Linked DNA regions of Homo sapiens: region 2 is linked to region 1. Evidence: promoter capture Hi-C in 16 types of primary human blood cells and fetal thymus (Javierre and others, 2016). All regions are on one chromosome and are shown on one strand. The core of a region is centred on a gene start or on the middle of the fragment in contact, and the rest is flanking DNA. Distances in the headings are between cores, read along the strand shown.

Region 1 (3,424 bases), core at 281-2,780:
TGTTGAACTGAATGGAATGCATCCTATCTGCATACTTAACATCTTGGGCACAGAATGTAGAGAGAACTAAAGAGGGTTCCTGTCCTCCCCAGACAGACTTGACAGTCAGAACCCCAAAGTATAGAGAAGTTAAAATGAACTACGGCAGTAGCCCAGAAAAGGAAAACATGTGTCTGAGGGCAAGAAAAGAATTCATCAAAACGGTAGTGTGTGAGGGCTGGGTGCCTGTAATCCCAGCACTTTGGGAGGCCGAGGCAGGCGGATCGCTTGATCTCAGGAGTTCGAGACCAGCCTGGCCAACATGGTGAAACCCCTTCTCTACAAAAAATACAAAAATTAGCCCGGTGTGGTGGGGCTTGCCTGTGGTCCCAGCTACTGGACAGGCTGAGGTGGGAGGATTACTGGAGCTCAGGAGGTGGAGGCTGCAGTGAGCCAAGATCACGTCACTGCGCTCCAGCCTGGGCGACAGAGGGAGACCCTGTCGCAAAAAATAAAAAATAAAAAGCAGCATCAGAAGAGTCTTAGGACTGAACCTTGGAAAAGCTCATGTTATGTGACTCCATGAAGAATTTTTACTGTACGGCCCAGTAGAGCATGAGCTGGGTGGGGGCGGGGGTGTGTGTGGGAGTGTCGGGGGAGGTGAGGGAGTATCAGTTCTTCACCTTAACATCCCATTCTGAAGCACAGGACAGCCCCTTGTCAGAGACACACATGCATTTATCATTTCTGTATAACTGACTCAATATACAGCTACAGAGCTAATTTCACGCTGTTTATCTTGTAACATGGATTCTGTCTATGCTTCCCAAGTAATATTTTCATTTCCATTTTAAAATTCAGAGTTTAGAAAAATGCCTTCAAATACCGTTAGGAGAACCATTCAAATCAGGTGCCCAAAACTAGATGGCACATTGATTCATCTATGGCTGGATGGTTAACTAAGTAGTGCAAGAAATATGAGCTGTTTCAGAACGCAGACGTTTGTTAGAGAACAGGAACTTCTGCTCTCCGTCCTGGAGATTCCAACGTTTGGCCCGATTCTTTGTGAAAACAGACCAGGGCTCCTTCTATGAGAAGAGTAGAGGAGAGGAATGAAGGACAGGAAGAGGACGGAGTTGGGAGGAATGGAGGAAAAGGCATTATGTTAGATAGGGAGAAATCTAGGCTCCAGCCTCAGCTGTGCTGCTAACTCGCTGTCTCTTGACCTCTCTGGGCATTAATTTCCTCAATCTACAAAATAAGGCAACTGGACTGAATTATCAATTCTAACCCTTCCACCTGTGATTCTAACCCATTCTGGTGCCTAATCAAGGAGGGGACAGATGGTCAACCAGGAAGACCCATAGGGGCCACAGAGGGCTGATGCGACCCTCCCAGGCTCTCCGTCTCTCTCACCCTCTCCTTCCCCCTCCCTCTCCCCCTCCCCCTCTCCCTCTCCCTCTCCCTCTCCCCTTTGGCATCACACGCCCCTGCGCGCCGCCTCCAGGAGCGAGCCGCTCGCGCCCGAGGCCACGTGACCCGAAGGCGCGAGGGCGCGCCTGAGCCGCCATGTCGGAGGCGCGTGGAGAGCCAGGGTCCGGGCCTGAGGCTGGCGCCCGATTCTTCTGCACTGCGGGTCGCGGCCTGGAGCCGTTCGTAATGCGAGAGGTGCGGGCGCGGCTGGCGGCCACGCAGGTGAGTTGGCCTCGCTGCGCGCCTGGGGAGGTGGGCGGCCCTGTCCCTGCCCTGTTGCCCACCCCAGTCGTGGACGCGGGAAAGCGTCGCTGGCGCCCCTCTCTGTTCCACGCGACGGTCGCCGACCCCCGAGGTTGACTGGCAGGCGCTTCCGCTCCGGCCGAGAGAAGCCACCATTCCTTTCTTTCCTTGTATAGCAAATCCAGTTCCTCACTTCTCAGGGCTCAAGTTTTTAAGAGAGGTGTTGAGGCAAGTTATTTCCTGGATTCTTTAAAGTAGTAAGTAGTGCCTGTAATTAGAATCTGGCCTGTCAGAGTTAGAACCCTTCGCTCTTTAAATGCAAACATAATCTCCAAGTTCAGTTACCTGACTTTTTGTTAGTTTCTTGACAGTGATTGTATTTGACTACATAGGATTGTTGTGAGAATTAAATTATATAGCGTATGCAAAGTACACTTTAAACACGCAGTAAATAGCAGCCAGAAAAATAATATACTCTTGCAGGCCTCATAGTTATCTGTTATTGATTTCTGTGAAATGAACAAGGTTTTAAGCATCGGTTTAGGTTTTAGAATGTTGAAAACTGGTTTCTTGAAAGTAGGGGATGAAGGTATAATAGAAAAGGTATCTTGATGGGGTGTATGGGACACTGTGAGTGATGTACTCTTGGAAAAGGAGAGCTTCCTAAATGAAATTAACCCCTCCACCCTGGCAGCTCCTACAGTGTGGGAAGCCCACAAAAGGAGTTTCTGCAGTGAAAGGTTGGAGTCGTGAAGAATTATGTCAGTTTTGTTAGACTACCTGCCACTTGTGTTTTGGGTCACAGAATTTAATAGAGTATTGAATGTAGCTAATCTTAAAAAGCATCAATATATAATAACTACTGACATTTATTGAACATTTAATATGTGTCAGGCACATGTTCTTAGATCTTTACCCTATATTTATTTGCGTACTTTTCACAACAGCCCTATAAGGTAGGTGTTCCACATTTAACAGATGAGAAAAATGAAGCACAGGTAAGTCCGAGAATTTATTCAAGTCATGCAACTAGAAAATCGCAAAGATGGGATTCAAACCCGAGCTGGGAAATCAAGAATGAGTATATAATCATGTTCAAACCAGGCCCACTATATGACCATGACATAGGGGTGCGCTGGCTTGTTTTTTTAAATGCTAACTTAGAGTGCTTGGTATGAAAGAGAGAGAGAGCTTGGCCCAATTAATATGTAGGATTATTAGAAAAAGGAAAGACTCTCTGCTTGTTCTCCATCTTCTCTAAAGACAAATGAAATGGGGAAAACTTTATTACCAGGAAGAAAATTCAATTAAATACAGGGAAAACTTTTTGACAGTGGGAGTAATTAAATGCCAGTAGATTTGGGAATTTCCATATTCTGCTCTTGTATGTTTGAAAGATAGATAGGTCTGGAAATGGGATCTGAACAAATAATCTCTGAAATTCCACCCAAGTTGCTCTGATACAAAGTGAACTCTCAAAGTTAAGGCAATCCTGAAATAACAGTGATGACAACTAACATTTATTAAACACTTAAAATGTTAGACAAGTTATGTGCATGTTATGATTTAATCCTCAAAAGACTCCTATCTGATAGACTTTTACCTCCATATTTTACCAAAAAAAGAGAAAATTGGGACTTGTCTCTGAGTCTCTCTAGCTTTAAAGCCCATGTGCTTTACCACTAGGCTAAATTACCATGGGAATCTTCCCTGGAACATTGGATGTAGT
Region 2 (3,304 bases), core at 47-2,546, 790 kb before region 1:
CATTCATTTTCTTTAAGATTTAATGAATTATATTCTATAGAGTCCTATAGAGTTTGAACTCTATTCACTGTATATGCACCTCAAACATGCTAGTAGATAAGACCATGACAGAAGCTAGGAGTACAAAATGCAAGAATAAATCCATTCTGATTTATTTTAATGTAACCAGTACTAACAATGTAGTTTTAGCTTTTTAAAATGTGATAAATACAAAATTAAACAGGATGCCAGGGGTAGGGAGGGCATGAACTAGAACTACCACGTGCAAAAGAGAATTTGTACAATTTGTAAAAATTTACATAATTTGTAAAGCAAAATTTTTAAAAAATGCTTCTCTCATCCATGGAAACCAATAAATACTCTCCAGTTCTTTGAAAATTTAGAAAAGTATCTGGAAACTTACACTGTCCTCTAGGTTGAAGTTTAAACATCTTTTATGTGGGTCTCATTACTTATTCCCAAGAATGGGTCAGATCATTCCATCTATGTGAGAGAAGGCAGTATTCTGATTTTACAAGAGTTGGTGGTCATTATTGCCTGTGCTTGAAGCCACTGTTCCAGGTACCAAGCTAACAAATATAAGGTGTAGTTCTTTAAAACAGTAGGAACAAAAAGTTGAGTGTCCTGAGTCATAGGGGTTAAGTGGTAAGATATTGGAGGGTCTCTGGTATCTTTTTCACTTAAGATATTAATATTTTTTATTTAAGAAGTTTTCTACCAAAAGCCTAGGAACCTAACAATAAAATTGCCCACTCCCCCTCCCCAATACCAACCCTCTTAGACATCAATCTTTCCTTCAGTTTCTCTTGTTATTTTATGCTCTCATCCCTCTTCTCATTGTAGAGTAATGGGATCCAAGTTTGAGCTTTGGAAGGAAATCTAAACCGGCCCTTGAGGCTGCTTTGCTTCTAGACCATTCAGAATGATTTGGCTTCGGTAATGGCATTCTCCATGGGGTCCAATGTAGCTCCTTGGAATGCTCCAGGGGAATTGGGTAAAAAATCCCATCTAGTCATTAAGGATGACTTTGTCTTCCTTTTCTTCCTTAAAGACCTCCTTAGGAGAGGTGATTGTTCAACATCAGAATACAAATATTCCTATGTCTCTTGGTTAAATATTTCTACTACCCATCAACATCCTCAATGCCTTAAAGAGAAAATATAATGCTGACATGCATCAGATGAATACGCTTTACATATTATCAAAACTTGATAGGATATAGTCTAAATTCCTTAATAGAATGTTCAAGCTCTTCATGGTCTGAATCTGCCCTGTACTGTCTAACACAGTGACCACTAACCTTATGTAGCTACTGAGCACTTAAAATTGAGATGTGCTGTAAATGTAGTATACATACTGAATTTTTGAAACTTAATATGAAAAAAGAAGATACAAATTCTTGTAAATATTATTTACATGAATTACATGTTGAAATGGTAATAGTTTAGATACATTGAGTTAAATAAAATATAAAAATTAATTTAATTTTTTTTTGCTTTTTTTAAACAAAGCTACTAGGAAATTTAAAGTTTCATATGTGGATAGCATTTTATTTCTATTGGACAGCACTGGTGTATGTTTTGCTCCTCAACTTGAAGTCATATTCTGCTTATTGCCTTGACAAGGTATTTATGCTTCAGTACTTTGCAAATAGTGTTCTGAATCATGTTTTACAATTGTTCTTCCTCTTTAACTTTCACCCCATTATACCCTATTGCACAAATTGATGACCATGACATGCAATAGATGAATAGCTAAAAAGCATAGTTCATATGTCGCTTCCTTTGCAAAGTCATCTCCGTTCCCTAAGACAGTTAATTGTGCTAATCCTAGCCTTATGTCTACACTTACTGTGAACTTGTGCACTATACTGTAATTATTATGTACATGTGTGTCTGTTTACTTACCTACAAGCCCCTTGAAGTCAGGGACCATGACATATATACTTAACGTAGTACATAGTTTTCAATGAATGCTTCCTAAATGGAATCAAATAGTATTCCTCTATATCCTCTGGTTAATCTGCATGAATATCAACACCTAGTCTATGAACATTACATCAACATAAAGTGGTATTGAGAAGTTATGATACTGCAGAAACTAAAACATCTACTTAAAAATAATTTATATTCCCCTTTCTGTGTCCAAGTGTTCTCATTGTTCAGTTCCCACCTATGAGTGAGAACATGCGGTGTTTGGTTTTTTGTCCTTGCGATAGTTTGCTGAGAGTGATGGTTTCCAGCTTCATCCATGTCCCTAGCGGGGGAGGGATAGCATTAGGAGATATACCTCATGTAAATGACGAGTTAATGGATGCAGCACACCAACATGGCACATATATGCGTACGTAACAAACCTGCACATTGTGCACATGTACCCTAGAACTTAAAGTTTAATAAAAAAAATTAAAAAATAATTTATAAATCAAAACTGAATATGGTCATCAATAATTATATAATCATCATGAACTGTAGCTGCATTTATATACAAAGCAAAATAACTATATAAAAGTAAACAAAAATAAATTTCTGAGAGTTAGTAATTCCTGAAAGTTATTGAGTACTCAATATGTGCATCTCACCACATGAAGAATATGCTGTCTCATACAATGTTCATAATGTATTTTTATCATTCCGGTGTTAGAATAAAATAGGGTAAATCTGACATTGAGCGAAGGTAGTCTGACTTTAGAACTCTTGAACTTCCAATCTTTTGGAAATAAATTATAATATGGGTTTCCCAATAGGTTCAAAGACCACCAAAAATGGAATACTTTGTCACATTCAGATAGACAGGTCTATTTTTCATTATCTGAGTCAGATTCTTTGTCCTTGGTTTGGCTAAGAGTTTTACGGGCATCACAAACATCACTGGGACAGTGCTTTGTAATAAAGATTAAAGGCAGAGAGAAAAATCCCAAAATACATTCTCTATCAGACTCTCAGGTCAGAATATAAACAGGAAACTGGAAGAAAGAAAAGAAGGATGCTACCTTTAAAAATAGCTGACAAAGCTCATGAGGTAGCTATCTGTTTTGTCTTGAATTGAAAATTTAAAATCACAGTTTAGAATTTTTATCTTTTCTACTTCGCTGTGCTATTTTTGGTTAGTATCTATTATGCTTGTATTATTGAATCCTTTTCTCACTGAGTTTTTCTTCCCTTTCCAAAGAAATCTGAAAAATATTGCCAGATTAGTATTTCTGAAAACTGCTTCACATAAACCAATTTTAGGCACAGGACAGCAAGTCCTATGTTGTGTCTAAAATGATCAGGCAAGCATTGGACTGGAATTGCTTCTGTAA

What was found. The method cuts DNA at HindIII sites, captures the fragments that hold promoters and counts their contacts. A CHiCAGO score of 5 or more calls a contact.
Region 2: a contact is called between a fragment that was not itself captured here and the fragment with the promoter of THUMPD2 in region 1, in 1 of 17 cell types (neutrophils). The highest score is 7.0, in neutrophils.

The regions. Positions count from the first base shown.
Region 1 is chr2:39,777,364-39,780,787 of GRCh38, reverse strand. THUMPD2 (THUMP domain 2 tRNA and snRNA guanosine methyltransferase) reads left to right here and starts at 1,530. Exons shown (of 10, transcript NM_025264.5): 1 at 1,530-1,674. The coding sequence starts at 1,549. The HindIII fragment of the contact is 5,327 bases long and covers 1-3,424 here.
Region 2 is chr2:40,562,815-40,566,118 of GRCh38, reverse strand. No RefSeq gene overlaps it. Among named protein-coding and RNA genes, the nearest start is that of SLC8A1, 110 kb to the right of the region's middle. The HindIII fragment of the contact is 5,514 bases long and covers 1-3,304 here.